Regions from separate parts of the Homo sapiens genome. Here regions 1, 2, 3, 4 and 6 are each linked to region 5. The links are contacts of gene promoters, found by promoter capture Hi-C in human tissues and cell types (Jung and others, 2019). All regions are on one chromosome and are shown on one strand. Each heading gives the region's core, a stretch centred on a gene start or on the middle of the fragment in contact. The rest is flanking DNA. Distances are from core to core; before and after follow the strand shown.

What was found. The method cuts DNA at HindIII sites, captures the fragments that hold promoters and counts their contacts. A contact is called where the count stands out against the background at its distance.
Region 1: a fragment that was not itself captured here is called in contact with the fragment with the promoter of ZNF839 in region 5 in 1 of the 25 tissues and cell types used here (adrenal gland).
Region 2: a fragment that was not itself captured here is called in contact with the fragment with the promoter of ZNF839 in region 5 in 1 of the 25 tissues and cell types used here (lymphoblastoid cells).
Region 3: a contact is called between a fragment that was not itself captured here and the fragment with the promoter of ZNF839 in region 5, in 2 of the 25 tissues and cell types used here (H1 embryonic stem cells and IMR-90 fibroblasts).
Region 4: a contact is called between the fragment with the promoter of TRAF3 here and the fragment with the promoter of ZNF839 in region 5, in 1 of the 25 tissues and cell types used here (thymus).
Region 6: a contact is called between a fragment that was not itself captured here and the fragment with the promoter of ZNF839 in region 5, in 2 of the 25 tissues and cell types used here (lymphoblastoid cells and mesendoderm cells).

The regions. Positions count from the first base shown.
Region 1 is chr14:101,916,419-101,919,118 of GRCh38, reverse strand. It overlaps PPP2R5C (protein phosphatase 2 regulatory subunit B'gamma), which reads right to left. Exons shown (of 16, transcript NM_001352913.2): 15 at 1,172-1,288. Among named protein-coding and RNA genes, the nearest start is that of DYNC1H1, 47 kb to the left of the region's middle. RefSeq lists an enhancer at 1,294-1,949. The HindIII fragment of the contact is 4,410 bases long and covers 1-2,700 here.
Region 2 is chr14:101,857,102-101,859,801 of GRCh38, reverse strand. All of the region lies in intron 4 of PPP2R5C (protein phosphatase 2 regulatory subunit B'gamma), which reads right to left. Among named protein-coding and RNA genes, the nearest start is that of PPP2R5C, 97 kb to the right of the region's middle. The HindIII fragment of the contact is 3,562 bases long and covers 1-2,700 here.
Region 3 is chr14:102,025,456-102,028,155 of GRCh38, reverse strand. DYNC1H1 (dynein cytoplasmic 1 heavy chain 1) reads right to left here. Exons shown (of 78, transcript NM_001376.5): 44 at 1,449-1,582; 45 at 868-982; 46 at 612-773; 47 at 323-537; 48 at 15-219. Among named protein-coding and RNA genes, the nearest start is that of HSP90AA1, 60 kb to the left of the region's middle. RefSeq lists an enhancer at 1-834. The HindIII fragment of the contact is 7,400 bases long and covers 1-2,700 here.
Region 4 is chr14:102,776,100-102,778,799 of GRCh38, reverse strand. TRAF3 (TNF receptor associated factor 3) reads right to left here and starts at 1,351. Exons shown (of 12, transcript NM_145725.3): 1 at 1,125-1,351. RefSeq lists silencers at 509-568, 809-858, 1,069-1,678, 1,769-1,828 and an enhancer at 2,539-2,700. The HindIII fragment of the contact is 12,756 bases long and covers 1-2,700 here.
Region 5 is chr14:102,318,447-102,321,146 of GRCh38, reverse strand. It overlaps ZNF839 (zinc finger protein 839), which reads right to left and starts at 1,401. Exons shown (of 8, transcript NM_018335.6): 1 at 1,094-1,401. The coding sequence starts at 1,381. RefSeq lists an enhancer at 782-891 and silencers at 992-1,181, 1,242-1,341. The HindIII fragment of the contact is 9,233 bases long and covers 1-2,700 here.
Region 6 is chr14:101,876,303-101,879,002 of GRCh38, reverse strand. The region is part of intron 4 of PPP2R5C (protein phosphatase 2 regulatory subunit B'gamma); the gene reads right to left. Among named protein-coding and RNA genes, the nearest start is that of DYNC1H1, 87 kb to the left of the region's middle. RefSeq lists enhancers at 145-294, 2,513-2,582. The HindIII fragment of the contact is 7,006 bases long and covers 1-2,700 here.

The sequences.
Region 1 (2,700 bases), core at 148-2,647, 400 kb after region 5:
CAGCCATGTGCTAATTCCGAATCTTCTAGCAGTCACATTCAAGAAGTAAAAAAGAAATGGGGGGCATTCATTCAAACAACATATTTTATTTAATGCAGTAAAGGAGTAAAACAATGGCTACTCCACAGGCGGGGCGCCTACTTTCACTTCTTACCTCAGAATTTTAGAAGGGGATGTCTTTTGGAATTCTTTCGCTGGTCAAAAAGAGGTTAAAGTTTCTCAGTGAGAAAGGCCAATGTCCCCAGGCCATTTGGGACTACTGTTTTAGTTTACAGGCATTTGAAACAGGGAGGGACGCTCAGGGAAACACGGCAGCTGAAACGCTCCTTGAACCCAGGCAGGAACTGAGTCAGTTGTCCTAAGTGTCTACAGGCCCAGCTGAGGAGTAACAGTGGTCGGAGGCTCTCTTTGGAGGTGGCCTGTGACCAAAGCACTGAAAGACAGTGCCCGGGAGGGGGCGAGGGGGGCGAGGGGGGTCAGGGGGGAGAGGGGGAGGGGTGGGGGGGCGAGAGGAGTGAGGGGGATGAGGGGGGCAAGGGGAGAAGGCTGAGGGGTGGGGGGAGGGGTGGGGGGGCGAGAGGAGCGAGGGGGATGAGGGGGGCGAGGGGAGAAGGCTGAGGGGTGGGGGGAGGGGTGGGGGGCCAGAGGAGCGAGGGGGATGAAGGGGGTGAGGGGGGAAGGGGACGGGGCGAGGGGGGTGAGGGGGCAAGGGGGGAGGGGCAAGGGGGTGAGGGGACAGGGGGAGGGGCAAGGAGGGTGAGGTGTCCTAGGGAGAGGGGTTGTTAGCACCCGCTGTGAAGAGCTAAGGGAGCCTCTCTGGGTCGAAGCAGAAGCCAGAGGGCTGTGAAGAAAACAGCGAGGGGTGGATATGGCTGTGAAGCTTTCGATTTTGCTGGAGTGAACATTTAAAGAACAGTTAAGAGTTGGGATTACTACTGCTGTTAGTAAATGGAGATACACATCTCAGGCACATACTTAATCCTTAAAAACTGTTTCTAGTAATTTGATCACTAAGATCTATCGATACAATGTTTCCTATAAGACTAGCAAAATTTAAGTTTTAATTTCAGCTTAAACAGAAGGCACTGATGCAAATCACATCGCCTACAAAAATGTGCATTTCTTAAGCAAATCAGTCATGGGTGCCCAGCTGAGCTCGGTGCACTTTTACCTGATGAGCCTCGTCCTTCACTGTCTTTCTCAGCATCTGCACATCTTCAAATAAAGGCCCATCTGTCTCCATTGCAACCGGAATGCTCATGGTGCTGGCTTGACTATACACTGTGTACTGCAATGCAAAGCGTGGAGTCGCTCTGTTAGGTGCCCAGGCTCTGAACTCCAAGCTTCTCATCCTGGCTAGGGACTCATCTCCCCTGCCGCCCCCCAGGGCCCTCTCCCGCAGGAAGCCCACTCAGTGGGAGACTCGCCTACACCTGCAACATGATGCGGCTGCTGACTTCTGAAACCAGAAAGCACTCAGTGGAGACAGTAAAGCAGCTGGTCCCCTCCTGACCCCTCTGCATCTGATGGACAGTGGCCCGCCCATACCCTGGCCCACACCCCATGGCCTCTGCAGTTCTGACTCCACGTGAGCAGCCAAGTGCGAGGTCGCACCCTGGGCTCGGTGGTGGGAGCTGTCTCACCACTGGAACCCTCACCTCTGGCCGCCCATTCTTTGCCAGCGACCTCCAACCTCATGATTCTTTTCCCTTTCCTCTCACGATCATGTCCTCTCATCGAGACAGCTGGCACGGTTCTCTCTCCCCTTTATCCCATTTTCCCGGCTTGCTTATGAAACCCTCTCATCACATCCCGGGTGACTTGCTCTCCACCAAAACAAACGCAGCCTGGGTGAGCCTGACGCTCCCTCTCCATTCCCTACGGGCGGCCCTGGGACTTCTCCACTCTCCCTGTGCTCTGGATTGAAACACAGATGGCTCAGCCCTCAGTCACTGGGCCTGGTTGACTCCATTTCCATGAGTGTAGTGCGGGGGTAAGGTCACCCCGGAGGGTGGCTGTGAGGGTTCCATGAGACAGGGTGCACAGGACAGTATGACTGTGACGAGCGTCTGCTGGCTCTGAGGGCACAGGCGAAGGAAGTGGCATCTGTGTCTGCTGTGAGCTGGGAACTGTGTGGGGCGCCTGTTTGTCCTGCGTGGTCGTGTGTGTGTACTGCCACCCTCACCTGGCTGATGGGGGAACTGGGACATGGAGGGGCTGGGGAACTTGCTCAGGGCCTCTGAGTTCAGGAGAGGGGAGCGGGGGTTCCTGCCCAGGCTGCTCTCATCCACACCCCTCCATTCTCTGCCCAGTGAGTCCCACAGCTTCGGCCTCTTTCAGGCTGAGCTCCTGTCACAGCAGCGCCCTCCTGCTGACCTGCTTCACCCCTGCCTCTCACCCCCTGCCCCCTCACCCCTGCCCCTCACACCCTGCCAGCCCAGAGCAGCTCCGTTCTCAGCCACCGTCTGGTGTTGGCCCTCATCCTCTGACGGAGCCACCTCTGGCATGAGGCCTATGGGTGCCCTCTGGCTGCTAAGCCCTTCCCGGCCTTGCCTCACTGGGCCTCTCTGAGGAATGATGACCATGGACGCCATCATTCAGCCCTGAACCTGCACCCTCCCTCGGTCTCTGTGACCCCAGCCTCTCCTCCAGGTGCCTTGGGCTCCTTCCTCTGTGGGCTGTCTTCGGCCTTTTCCCACA
Region 2 (2,700 bases), core at 109-2,608, 460 kb after region 5:
CAGGGGCTCTAAGCTGCAGAGCTTCTCATCAGACGTGAACCACAAAGAGGCCCAGGCTTTTGCTGCCTGCCACACCAGGCCCAGGCACTGCTTGGGACAGAGGCCTTGTACTGGTTGCTTAAATTCTTGACAAGAGGGTCACAAACCAAGGCCAGGCACCACCCCACCGCCTGTGTTCTTCCTTCTTTCACTATACTTCTCATCAATGCCCTCTAGCTACAGAACAAAACAACAAAACCAAAAATCCAATCTGTCCCCATCCCCTATTCTACCTCCAGATCCAGACAAACAAGGGGTAGGGAAAGGCTATGTTGCCTTCTGAACTTAGAGCAGAAAGGAAAGAAAATGTCCCCTGCTCTCACAGTGACCACAGACAGCATCTCATGTGTGCCCATCTTCACAGGACAGTCTAATTCATCACCCAGTTTCCACTCTGCGCCTTCTTCCCGCCCACGTGGGCATAAGGCAGAAATCACATTCCCAGTCTTGCAACCCTATCTATTTCATCTGGATTACTTTTATTCACGGCATCACCGTAATCTAAAATGAAAATTATTGGTTGGCTTATTTTATGGTTGTCTCCCACGTGAAAATGAAAGCTTTAGGTGAAAATGAAAGCTTTAGGAGGGCAGAAGTCTTGTTCGCCATTCTATTTCCTCACCCCAAAACGTGCCTGGCCCATGATGGATGCTCAGTGTCTGCTTACTGCTTAGGGAGCCCAGGGGCTGGCAACGCTCTGGAGCCCAGCGCGAGGTTTGGGTGGGAAACAAGTTAATACAGCAGGAGGAGAATCAAGTTAGGAAACAATTATGACAGGGAGAGGAGAGGCAATGATGACTTAATCTATAAAAACAGCCTCAAGGGCTTTTAAGTATCCTAAGTGGTGCCAGTAACCCACACTGCTACTGTGAAATACAAACGAGAGGCGGTTTCAAGCAGTCGGGAGCACACTCGGTTCAAGGGCGGGCATTTGACCTGAACCAGGCCAGCGGGAGTCTTGTCATTCTTTGTAGATTCTTCCCTCTTAGGTTAAAGAGTGGGAATCAGAGACTTTCTTAAACATAGGAAAATCTTCCACACGTGTAAACTTAATATAGAATTTATATACTTATAAATCTAACATACAGTAAAATAAAATGAACACATAATAAGGAAGCATTAAGCAATAGGGGGAAATGAAATAGTCAATACATGATGTAGGGAGAAATAATTTTTCAATAATTTTAGAAGAAAATAAATTTAAAAGAAAATGAAGTTCTATCCCTAACCCACATCATAAAAAAAAACAAAAAACAAAAAACAAACAAACAAAAAAACTGGAATGCTCCTAACACAAAGAAATGATAAACGCTTGAGGTGATGGAAACCCCAATTACCCTGATTTGATCATTACGGATTCTATGCTTCTACCTAAATATCACATATACTCCATAAATATGTACAACTATTACATATCCATACCTAAAAGAAAAAAGATTATAAAATGTGATGCGCAAAACAAAATTATGAAAGTAATAGGAGAAAATATTAGAGATTTTTATGATTCTGGGGCTAGAGTGGGCCTCCAAAGTAATTGAGAGTTAAAATTAATGAAAGAAAAAAGCTATTCCCCAAGTGTCATTAGTCTGAACAGGTAAGGTTTTAGGGTATATATTCTCTGCTCAGTTTATGCCTATTACTCTTCTTCAGGCACAAGTCTGGGACAGGAACCCGCATGGCCTTTGTAGTCCTTAGGCCGACTACATGGTAGCCATGCCAGTGAATTCTGAACTTTAAGAGTTAAAAACAACAAGTTAAAACAATCAAGTTGATCTCAACCTCTGACACAGTAGACTGAACTACAACGAAGAACATTACTTTCATCTTTTTCCAAAGCAAACATACTAAAGAAGGAAATAAAAGTATTTTAGGTCAAGAAGTCCAGTCAATTCTGAAATATATAGCTTTGGAAAAAAAAATCAGTAACTTAACAAAGAGTTCAATGAAAATTGGACTTAACATTTTACACTAAGCCACACTGACTCCCCAGTAAGTGTGTGTGTGGGGGGTACTAGTTTCAAAGGCAGATAAAATATCAACAATTCAAGAAAAATCAACAGAAAACTGGATTTCAGCGTCAAACAATGAATTTTGGTAATGGCACTGAATGAAGTGTTTCCAGGTGGTACTGACTGAGGAATGGGCTGTAAAGTTTGACACTTCAGAGGACTGAGATCTGGGGGCTGAATAAAACCAACAGTGAACTAACTGCAGGATGATAAGACTATTTCAGCCAGTCAGGACATACTGTCATTGATAGAGGAATGACAGAGGAAGCACTGACAGAGGAAGGCCTTCTCAGCCAATCAGCATGGGCTGTCCTGATCCTAGCACTGACAGGTGGCGGCCTTCTCAGCCAATCAGCATGGGCTGTCCTGATCCCAGCACTGACAGGTGGAGGCCTTCTCAGCCAATCAGCATGAACTATTCTGACACCAGCTTGGTTCTGTCAATATTTCAACTCCATCCCATCATTAGAATTTTCCTGCACATGGATGGACAAAATGTTTACTTCTGAACTATAAAAAGGCACTAGTATATTAATGTTAAATATGTTTTAAAAAAATTTAAAGAAGATAAAATAATAAATAGAAATACAAATTCTAACACTTCTACTCCATAGGGTAGTTGTGAGGATTAAATGAGTTAATAAATGCAAAG
Region 3 (2,700 bases), core at 125-2,624, 290 kb after region 5:
AAAACTGAACCCACCTGGTGAAGAGTCTGATGAACAAACACACAGCTGTTCACAATGGCTTCCCGATGGGATGGTGGCTGCGGCAGCTTATCATACACAACTGGCATGTAATCAGGCACGATGTAATTTGGCTTCTCCAGATCCATCTTACTTGTGAATTCTTTGCCAACCTGATACAGTGCTTCGGTGGACCAGTCTCCAAACCAATTCAACACACACCTGAGAAAGAGGCCCATGTTTCAGGACAGCTATGAGGGGCAGGCTTTGTCCCTTGGAAGGACACCGACTTTCCTGACCCAGAGCCAAGTAAAGGCCCACGTACCTGTTGAAAAGTGCTGGTGATGTAGCTGCCCGGTCCTTGAGTCCCTCCGAGGACGGGTTCATGGTGAACACGACGTGGAGGTTGCGGATAACCTGGCTAGTGAACCACTTGTAGAGCTCCTCGTGCGAGTCCAGCATCAGGCCTTCCTTCTGTGCCCCCTCTTTGCACTGCGTCATCAAGGTGGCATACTCGTCTCCTTCAAAGAGACCAGGCACCTGGGAAACAGCACAGTGCTGACTTACTGGTCCCCCGGTAACACGTAATGCAACGCAACACGTCACCTAATTACCTCTCCATTGGCCAGAAGGGTATTCATTCGCTCCAGGAATCCAGAATCTAACACATTAGATTCATCCATTATAAATGCTATCTTTTCATTTTTACAGCCAGAACGTCTCAACACTGTCCGTAGATCTTCATCAAAGTCTTCCCCTGTGTACTTCCTATGGACCTACAGAAGCAGAGGCAAGTTAGGTCCATTCCTACTCACTGAGCTCTGCACACACATCTGTTGCTGGGATTAAGAGGCCACCGACCAGACGCACCTTAATCTGGTACACACTCAAACCGTTCATCCAGGCGACGAAACGAGACAGGGTAGTTTTTCCTGCTCCACTAACACCAATCAGAAGCAAGTGGCCTTGAGGTTGACGGAATATTCTGAAACATTACGAGAACTGATCAATGTTAAGGCTTATAATGCCTCATTCCCCTTTTGACTCATATCTAGTGTCTACAGTATTTTGGACATGTTTTAACTTGAACTTGTATATTAAACATTTGCTGAGCAACTGTTATTTGTGAAGTCCAGGAGGAATGCAAAGACCAGTAAGACACGGTCCTGTCCTCTAGACTGACATGAGAGACTAATGCAATTCCAGCAGAAGGTCAAAGGGCCATAATTATGGCAGGTATGCAGTGCTGGGGGAGGAAGAATGAAGTTCTGCTTAGGATAAACTGAGGATGGTTAAGCTGGACTTAGAAAGAAGAGAAGGGGGAAGCTGCTTGGTGGAGAAGGCTGAGGTGGAGGTGGTAGGACAGCATGAGGCCTGGTGTGACCCGGCACACACACTTACTCAAGAGCAGCTTAGGCGAGAGGTGGGGCTGTAACAACAAAAAAGCCCACCTGTCAATCCTCAGCACGTGGTCTAGGACTTCATTAAACAGCACCAGCGGAACATCAAGTTCTTCTTCATAAAAGACCTTCAGCCTAGCTTTGACATAATCTCTTAACTCTTCTTGGTCTACTGGGATGTAATCCTATAGAAAAAAAGGTAATACCCAAATTACTTAGAAAAAAATGTTAGTTATTAGACCAAAGTCAACTGTATGTCCACATACCATGAAGAAACTGTTAAAAATGCAACAAAAAAGGTATCATTTATAACATAGCAAAAAAATATAAATTCACTAGGAATGGATCTAAAAACATGAAAAACTTTTATAGAGAAAACTGAACTTCACCAAAAGGCAATGAAGAGGACCTCAATACATGAAGAGACATACCATGATCATGGAGGAAAAAAACACTCTACTATAAAAATGCCAGTTCCATCAAACTCATCCATAAGTTCAATGTAATCCCAGTCAAAATCTCAGTGGTGGGAGGTGCTTATTGTCCTGGTGCAACCTGACAAGCCATTTCTGTATTTCATTTGGAACAGGAAAGATCCCTCCAGAAAAGAACCAGGTGTGAGGGCCTGCCCTATTTTTTTTTTTTTTTTTGTAGCCTCGCTCTGTCACCAGGCTGGAGTGCTGTGGCACGATCTCAGCTCACTGCAACCTCCGCCTCCTGGGTTCAAGCAATTCTCCTGCCTCAGCCTCCCAAGTAGCTGGGACTACAGGCACGTACCACCATGCCCAGGTAATTTTTGTATTTTTAGTACAGACGGGTTTCACCACGTTGGCCAGGATGGTCTTGATCTCTTGACCTTGTGATCTGCCGGTCTCGGCCTCCCAAAGTGCTGGGATTACAGGCGTGAGCCACCGCACCTGGCCTGGGCCTGCCCTATTAAACAGACTTATTACCATAATCAGGACCATGTGGTTTTAGCACAGAGAACAACTAACGGATACCTATGCACACAGGGAAACTATGATGACAGACAGATACTGCAGAGTAAATTATTATTTAATAAACTTTGCTGGGATAATGGGTGTCCATAAGGAAAGAACTGAAAACGGACCCACTGCTCACTCAATACACAAACTCAATTAGAAATGTGATTAAGAGTTTCAAAGATACATCTTTTTTTTTTTTTTTTTTTTCCTTGAGACAGGGTCTCACTCTGTCACCCAGGCTAGAGTGCAGTGGCCTGATCTCAGCTCACTGCAACCTCTGCCTCCTGGGTTCAAGTGATTCTCCTGCCTCTCAAGTA
Region 4 (2,700 bases), core at 102-2,601, 460 kb before region 5:
TATAGACAAATACAGGGTAACAGCAAACAACATTTCCAAACGCTCCGGCAGTGTGTAGTCGCAGCAAATGCTAGGAAAAAAAATAAATAATGGCTCCTCTTCAGTTGTATGCCGTGAATGTAAATTAAGAAGCCGCTACAACGCTCGACATAACCTTTCTGACGCCACAAAAATGAATGAATTATATCCATACACACACACAGGCACACACACCACGCACCACGCATCACATGTCATTCTGAAAACTGATTCTGAGCTTAATTCGAAAAACGTGAAATACAACTGGTCCCGTCAACAGCTCGTAATCTGAAGGTTTCTTGCATTTCCAAGCACGTCCATAACACCTCATCCGTTTCCAGTTTGTTACTGTTTCCAACCGAAGGGAGAGAATTTTCCACACAGAATTATCTCCTCGGGTCCAAATACTAGACCGAAGTCCCCACACGGGGCTGGCTGGCGGCGTGGAACCGGCCAGCCCGCCGAGAGCCGCCTGGCGCCCGCGGGGAAGACGCAGAGCCCGCGGCCAGGAGCCGCCCGGTGCCCCGGGAGTCGCCGGCCCTCGGCGGCCGCGCGAGGGGGATTCGCGCCCTCTGCCCATACCCGGACCCCCGCGCCGCCCGCCAAGCGGTCGGAGGCGCCTCTGAGGCGGAATGACTCAGGACCAACTTTCCAATAACGCCCGGGCCCCCCCGGCCGGCCCGGGCAGCGCGCTCGGCCACGCAGCCCCTGAGCCGCCCGTCCCCCCGCGTGAAACCCGCGGCCCCGCGGGGTGCCGGGTCCTCAACGCCAGCGGGGGTCACGGCCGTAGCGAGGCCTGCGCGCCCCGTTTCCTGAAAAGGTGCGGGCGCCCCGGCCCCCTCGGGCCCCGAGCCCGGCCTCCGGGACAAAGTTTGCCGAAGTTGAGGCGTCCGGAGGCGGGAGGCAGCCCGGCTGGGGCGCGGGGCCAGGCTGAAGCCGCGCCCCGCCGTCGCCGCTGGGACGGGCCGGGCCTGCGCCGCGCCGGGCCCGCGCCGGGCAGCCCCGAGGCCCCCGGGCCCCGCCGCCCAGGGCGCGGGATGGAGGCGACGGGGATGGAGGCGCCCGGCCGCGCGCCGGAGGCCCGCCCGCCCGCCGCGGCCCCTTACCTCGCGGTCCGTCGCCGCTCGGCCGGCTCAGGGGCGCCGGGCGCGTCCTCCGCCGCGGTCCGCAGCGTTCTGCTCCCCGGGCTGCCCCATGGCGGGGGGCGGGGAAGAGCCGGCGGCCGCCGCGGCTGCCGCCGGCTGGAAAGTCCCGGCTGGGCTGCAACCCCGGCTCGCGCACGCGGCGGCCGCGCCGCGCTCCCTCGCTCCCTCGCTCCCTCACGCAGCCCCGCGCAGGCACTTCCTCTCGCGCGCTGGAAATCCCCGGCGCGCCCGCCGCCCCGCCCCCGCCGCCCGCGCGCGTGGGAGCGGCAGGAGCCCGCGAGCGCCGCCGGCCCCACGCGCCCGCCGGCCCCCCGCGCGCGCCCGCGACCCGTTGCTAAGGGCCCTAGCGCCCGGCGGCCGCCCGCCCGGCCTTAGCAACGGCGGCGCCGCGGCGCGGGGCGGGGACGGCCCCGGGCGCCCCCCGCCTCCCTCCCGTCCCCGCCGCGCGCCCCGCGGGCCTCCTCGCTCTGCGCCGCCCCCGCCGCGCCCCCGCCGCCGCGCGTCCCCGCGTCCCCGCCTTTCCGGGTCAAAAAGCCACGCAGGCCGCGTGGGGGCCGAGAGGTGCTGGCGCCGCTCCTCCCCGCGGCCACCTCGCCCGCACCCCCCACGCCAGCATAGCATACGCAGCCCCCGTGCGTGCACGCCCGTGTGCCCATGGCCACACGCGACCCCTACGCACACGCACGGGTCCGATATGCGGCCCCCCGCACTGTCGCGGACGCATACACGACGGTCACATTCCCCTCAAGCGGACACGCACACACACGCTCACCAACACCGTGCGCACGCGTACCAGGCCACGCACCCTCGCGCACACGCAGGTGGGGCTGAGGGTGACTCAGGCCGTGGAGCCCCTTTTCGCATGCAGAGGGCAGGGCTCCACATTAGTTTGGTGGCACTTTCCTTTCTCCCTCCCTTGGACCCTCCCACGCCCCCGGAGTGGTGTCTTGCTCACGGGTGGACAGGGTAGCCAGTTTGCCACGTGCCCCCAGCGTCCTCGGCGGTCCTGGCTGCCCCTGCGCCCCCTGCACCCTCCACCAGGCCGCTGGGGCCTGCGCATTTCTCCCGAGGCCTCTGCCTTCTGCCCCAAAGGCATCAGTGGTGTGTCAGTGATTCACCTAGGCCCACCAAGGCAGCACCCAGCCTGGCTGGGCCTGGCGAGGTGGGAAGCGAAGGGAGGGCTTCTGGGAGGCTCTGGGCCAGCTGAGGGGTGAGGCCTTCGCTGGAGTTTGCAAGTCAGTGGTGAGGGGACAGAAAGGACTTTGCATTTTTCACTTCTCAAGAAGGCTTATAAAGAGCCCTACCCCAGAGCTGAGACCAGTGTGAGTAGCCAAGGCCAGTCTGCCTTCTTGTATTGCTCCAGTGACTCATGTGAGTGGAGGCAGGAAGTCCAGCATCTCCTCCTACAGCTTCACCCATGGAACGTTCCAGAACCCCAGATAGTCCGACCTGGCTGCTGGAAGTCTATCTGGACATCAGAGACATTGGACCATGTCTCTGGCTCCATTAGCCCAACAGATGCTTGTTCTACAGCCAC
Region 5 (2,700 bases), core at 152-2,651:
GGTCACACCTCTAGATAGTGATAGTGTGGCATCTGGACAGAATCACACTGGTCTTCCTAAACCTTAGCAAGACAACTCTCCAGTCTTGATGATTAACTGGATACAACCCTAAGCAGCTAACATCAGTCAAAAAAACTCAACGAGTGAAGGTTCCTGATTCTATTCCCTAACCCGTTTCTTCTAGTGGAAAAAGCTGTCTTCTTTTGGCAATTTTGGGGTGAGACTAATTTTGTTTACAACCCCAGCGCTGAAATGGGGTGGAATTTTACAGATGCCGTGTAGGCCCTCTGGCTTCAGGCGCTATGCTTCACCCTCCGGAGTTGGGCGACCGTCTTCTAGTTATCACCCCCCTAGCAACCAAAAGGTGTGTGGCCCAGGAAATAAACCCACTGGGAAAGGATGTTTTGTAGTATACAGAGTGCTTTCACATATTCCAAACATTGTGTATCAGGCACTGTGCTGGGTACTGCGGTTACAAATCAGTCACTATCACCCAGGATGTTAAGTCCTGCAGCGAACTAGTGTATTGTGCTTGACTTTGTTCCAAGCCTGGGCCTTGGCACCTTACAACTGAAAAGCTAAGTTGGTTCCTTTTAATTCATTTATGTTTCAGCTCCAGTGTCTGGCCTACGGGACCACCCACTCTAAAGCAGCCCCCGTCAATCCCAGAACCTGCCTTATGTTCGTTCTTCAGCAAGTGTGTTCAAGGCTTCACCTCCTGCACATAGTGGGGAGTGCTGGGAACACGGTCTCTAAGTGCTCCACAAAGGCTGAACCAGCGGTGAAAGGCCTGTAAGAAGAGCTAGGGAGCACGCAAAAGCCCCCAGCAGGGCTGTGAAGGCAGAGAAGGCACGAGGGCGTTCCAGGCACAGGGCCCAGCGTGAGCAACCGCTCCTAGAGTGAGGCTCCTGGGGTGAAAATGCCAGGGTGGTGACAGGTGGGGGCCGAACGCCGTCCCTAAGAAGCTCAGCCTGGGGACGCCCTGAGTCTTAACCCGGGCGGATACTGGCCTCCCCGGACAAGCAGCTACCCCGCCGCGGGGCGTCGGCCCCCTTCGGGCCTCAGTTTCCCCACGTCCCTCCCGACGCCTCACCTGGGGCGGGAGCAGGCGCGGCAGGCGCGGGGGCTCGGTGCCCCGGCCCCGCTGCAGGGCGGCCTGTTGGGCCGCGTCCCGCAGCCGCCGCGCCGCGTCCCGCAGCACGAAGGGGGGCGGCGGCGGCGGCGGCTGCGCCTTCGTCACCTGCTCCAGGACCTGCCGCAGCTGCTCGGGGCCCAGCGGGGCCACACGTGCGACGCTGCCGCTCTGGCCCGGAGGAGCCGGGCCGCCGCCGCCGCCGCCATCCTCGCTGCCGCCCCCAGCCTCCGGCTCCGCATCCGCCATGGCGGCCGAGGCGGGGACTCGAACCCGGGTCGCTGAGCGACGGCGTCTCCAATGTACGTCACCTAGGAGAGGGGCGGGCTACGAGTGCCTCGCAGGCCAAGACACCTAGGAAGGCGACCGTGTCTGGCCGGGAAAGTCGTGGAGTGCCCCGCCCCAGCCGACAACCGCCGCGGCTCTTAGGGCTGATCAGCAGAGCGGACCCCCCTTATTTTCCTTATTGCCTGTCACGGATGTGTTTAAGACTCACCTTCTCTGGGAGCTGTCCCGGATCTCCCAGGGGGAGGTCTTCGGGGTTTCAGAGCCCCTGGCCCAAAAGTTACCACAATATCCAAGTGTTCTGACGTCATCATGCATCCGAATCAGCGGAGGATGCTGTCTGGAGATGCAGAGTACTGTGCCCACCCCTAAACATTTGGATTTATACATCTGGGAGGGGACCACAGTTTGAATTGTTAACGAGAGTGTTTCCCAAATTTTTGCCTTGTCACCGTAGCTTCTCTCTACCCACCCACCCAGATTGGGTGCACCTTGAAGGGAGAGATGATATATTACACAATCGGTGCCCAGCACAGGCCCTGCCCAGAACACAACGCACGCTCAGGGCATGAATGATGGATGGATGAATATGAATAAACGAATGAGTGAACGAATGAATGAACCCACCCTCTCTCTATCCATCCAGCTCCACTGCCCCATCTTCCTCAGCCTGATCGCCTCTCCTTCTTACGGTTGAGGCTCTGTGCGCCCTCCGAATCTTGTAGCTGCAGGTGTGTACACATGTCCCAGCTCCTTTCCCCAGGGAGAGCAGGAGGTCCACTGGTCCACAAACCCTTCTTAAGCACCTGGTGGGTGAACCGCTGTTTCCGCCCTGGGGGGTATACAGTCTAGGTGCCGACCCCCAAGGAGGAAACTTCCCAAGGGGGAAGGAGGAAACTGGCATTTGCAGCACAGTATGATGAGCGCCGAAGCCGGTAAAGTAAGGCTGGCGGCCTGGGTGGCGTCAGAGAAGGTTCTGGAAGATCACCACCATCCTCATCAATACTCACATTGCATTCACGATGATCCCTTCCGTGTTATTTTTTAATGGTGAATTTTATATTATGGGTATCTTACCACAATTTTTTTTTTTTTTTGAGACAAGATCTCACTCTGTCACCCAGGCTGGAGTGCAGTGGCACAATCTCAGCTCACCGCAACCTCCATCGCCTGGGTTCATGCGGTTCTCCTGCCTCAGCCTCTTGAGTAGCTGGGATTACAGGCGTCCGCCACCATGCCTGGCTAATTTTTGTATTTTTAGTAGAGACGGGGTTTCATCATGT
Region 6 (2,700 bases), core at 16-2,515, 440 kb after region 5:
CCAACTTGCCTAAGATGTTATTTAGGCACAGGAAAGTGTGATTTCACCCATCGTGGTTAAAGGCGATAACTGAAAAAAAGTAAAATGTCCCCGACTGTGCCAGCTGGCCGTATGTGTCAACCCGGCTAGGCCACAGTGCCCAGCTGTCCAAACACTGCTGTGGGTGTTCCTGTGAAGGCATTTTATAGATGTGGTTAACACCTATAATCAATGGACTTCAAGTAGCGATCACTCTTGAGAATGTGGGGGCTTCAACCAGTCAGCTGAGAGGCCTGTGAGACCCAAACTGCAGCTTCTCTGAGGAGAGTCCACCTGCGGCCTGCAGTGTCCACCACGGCCAAGTCTCGTGCCCGCTGCCTGTCCACGGAGTCCAGACCTGCCCGCTGGACTCACCCACTGCAGAAGGCAAGTCCTTGAGATCTCAATCTCTGTCTCTCCTGCTGTTTCTCTGCACAGCCCTGACTGAGGCACCCAGTCAGCTGAGATTCCTAAGTAAACTGGTGGTTTCTACTAGCAGGAAAGCTAGTGATTAGGGTTTCCAGTTGAAGCTCTCCCGCACAGTGACAGTCAGCCCAGCAGCTAGGCCCCGTCTCAAACACCTGCACACTCACTGAATCCTTGATGCTGAGCTGAGGGCCTGCAAGGTGACTCAGATGGCTTGCTCTGAACACAATGTCCTCTTTTCAGTGTCTGTCATGGACTCAATGCTTGTGGCCTCCCTTCCTCACATTCATGTTAAAGACCTAAACCCTGGTGTGGCTGGATTTGGAGATGGGTCCTCAGAGAAAATAATGAAGGGTGAATGAAGTCATAAGTGGGGCCTTGGCCCTCCAGGATTAGTGTCTTTGTAAGGAGGGATGGTAGAAGGCTCACACTCGCCTTCTCTGCACTTGCTCGGAGCAAAGGCCATGGGAGGGCACAGTGGCCGTCTGCAAGCCAGAAAAGGCCCTCAGCAGGGAACAAACCCTGCTACACCCTTGAGTTTAGACTTTCCAGCCTCTAGAATGGAGAGAAGACACATTTCTGTGGTTTAAGCCACCAGCCTGTGGTATTTTCTTACGGCAGCCTGAGCAGACTGATACAGCGTCCTTGACTGATGACCGACCTAGGTCCGGGAAGGTTCATTCCAGGCCAATTCTGATTGATTGAAAGTCATTTCTCATGTGTAAGGAAAAAAACTTGCACTCCTAACTTCTACACACCTTTCTTACCACATTACATTGCATTAATTTAGTGCATATCTCTAGAAAAGGTTAAGTAAAAAGTAATACTGGGGCGGGGGGAAGGAACAGAGGGCCAACGGTCTATCACCTCAAATTCTTCTTGGGTTTCTGACCTAGCAACATTTCTTAACACAAAAGCTGCAGGGGCGAATCAGGGGCAGGAGCCCCAGGTACAGAAACCTGGGGTGCTGATGTCTGTGTGCAAATGTCACTGCCATGCTACCTGGATGCATGGATCCGGTCTGAGGAAACAGAGAAGACATCAACGTTATGCAGTGAACACCAAAGAAGCTCTGAGGTCTAAGGAGTCCCGGGTCTTCTGGGCAGCACACAGGGTCACTGTGATCTCTCAAATGAGACCTACGGATCCAGCGCACACCCAGAGGCACAGACGCAGAATCACGCTGCCCAACAAAGGCAGCACAGCCTCATGGAAACAGTCTCTCTACACCCTCTTCCCACCTAGAAGAAGGACCTCAGACCAAACAGCCTGCCTGAGCCTCAATTTTCTCCTCCATTGGAAAGGGTAAAGGCCAGGCGCGGTGACTCATGCCTGTAATCCCAGCACTTTGGGAGGCCGAGGCGGGTGGATCACTTGAGGTCAAGAGTTCAAGAGCAGCCTAGCCAACATGGTGAAACCCCATCTCCACTAAAAATACAAAACTTAGCTGGGTGTGGTGGTGGGTGCCTGTAATCCCAGCTACTCGGGAGGCTGAGGCAGGAGAATCACTTGAATCTGGGAGGTGGAAGTTGCAGTGAACCGAGATTGCACCACTGCACTCCAGCCTGGGCAATAGAGTGAGACTCCATCTCAAAAAAAAAAAAAAAAAAAAAAAAAAGCGTAAATCCTTTTTTTATTTTTTGCATTGGGCTGTGGTGAGAATCACAGAAAACACATGCAACAGCACTTACTAAATGGGAAAACATTATGCACGAACAGTTAGCATTACACAGCACTTCCCAAACGTTTCTGACTGTTTGACCTCCACATGAAAATAATGGCACGCACGTGAGTGCATACGTATGTCTGCATGTGATTCACACGGCCCCATCTGTGCCAGGACCGTCTCTGGTTAATATCAGGAAGCACCTGCTTCTGCTGCCTCCCTGACACTTCCACTTTCAGTACTTACATCAGTCCTGCAGATGTTCTCCAAATTGCTAAATTTATTAAATTAGATGTAAACTAGAATGGCCCAAGAAGCAACTTTACGGAAAATTCTTACAATTCAGCAATATCATGCAGCCTTTCTGTATGTGTTATCATTCATTACCAATGAGTGAATATTTATGCCGTAACATAACTGCAGCAGTGTAACATATAAAAATTTTAAGACATGAAGGGATACATTAAAAAAAAAAACCGCTGACAGTCTAACTTTAGAGGCAACAGGAAAGAAAGGTTTGATTATTTACAGTTCTCTGTTCAAAACCACAAGGGTTATTCTGTTATTTATTCTCTGTTTTATTCATGTCA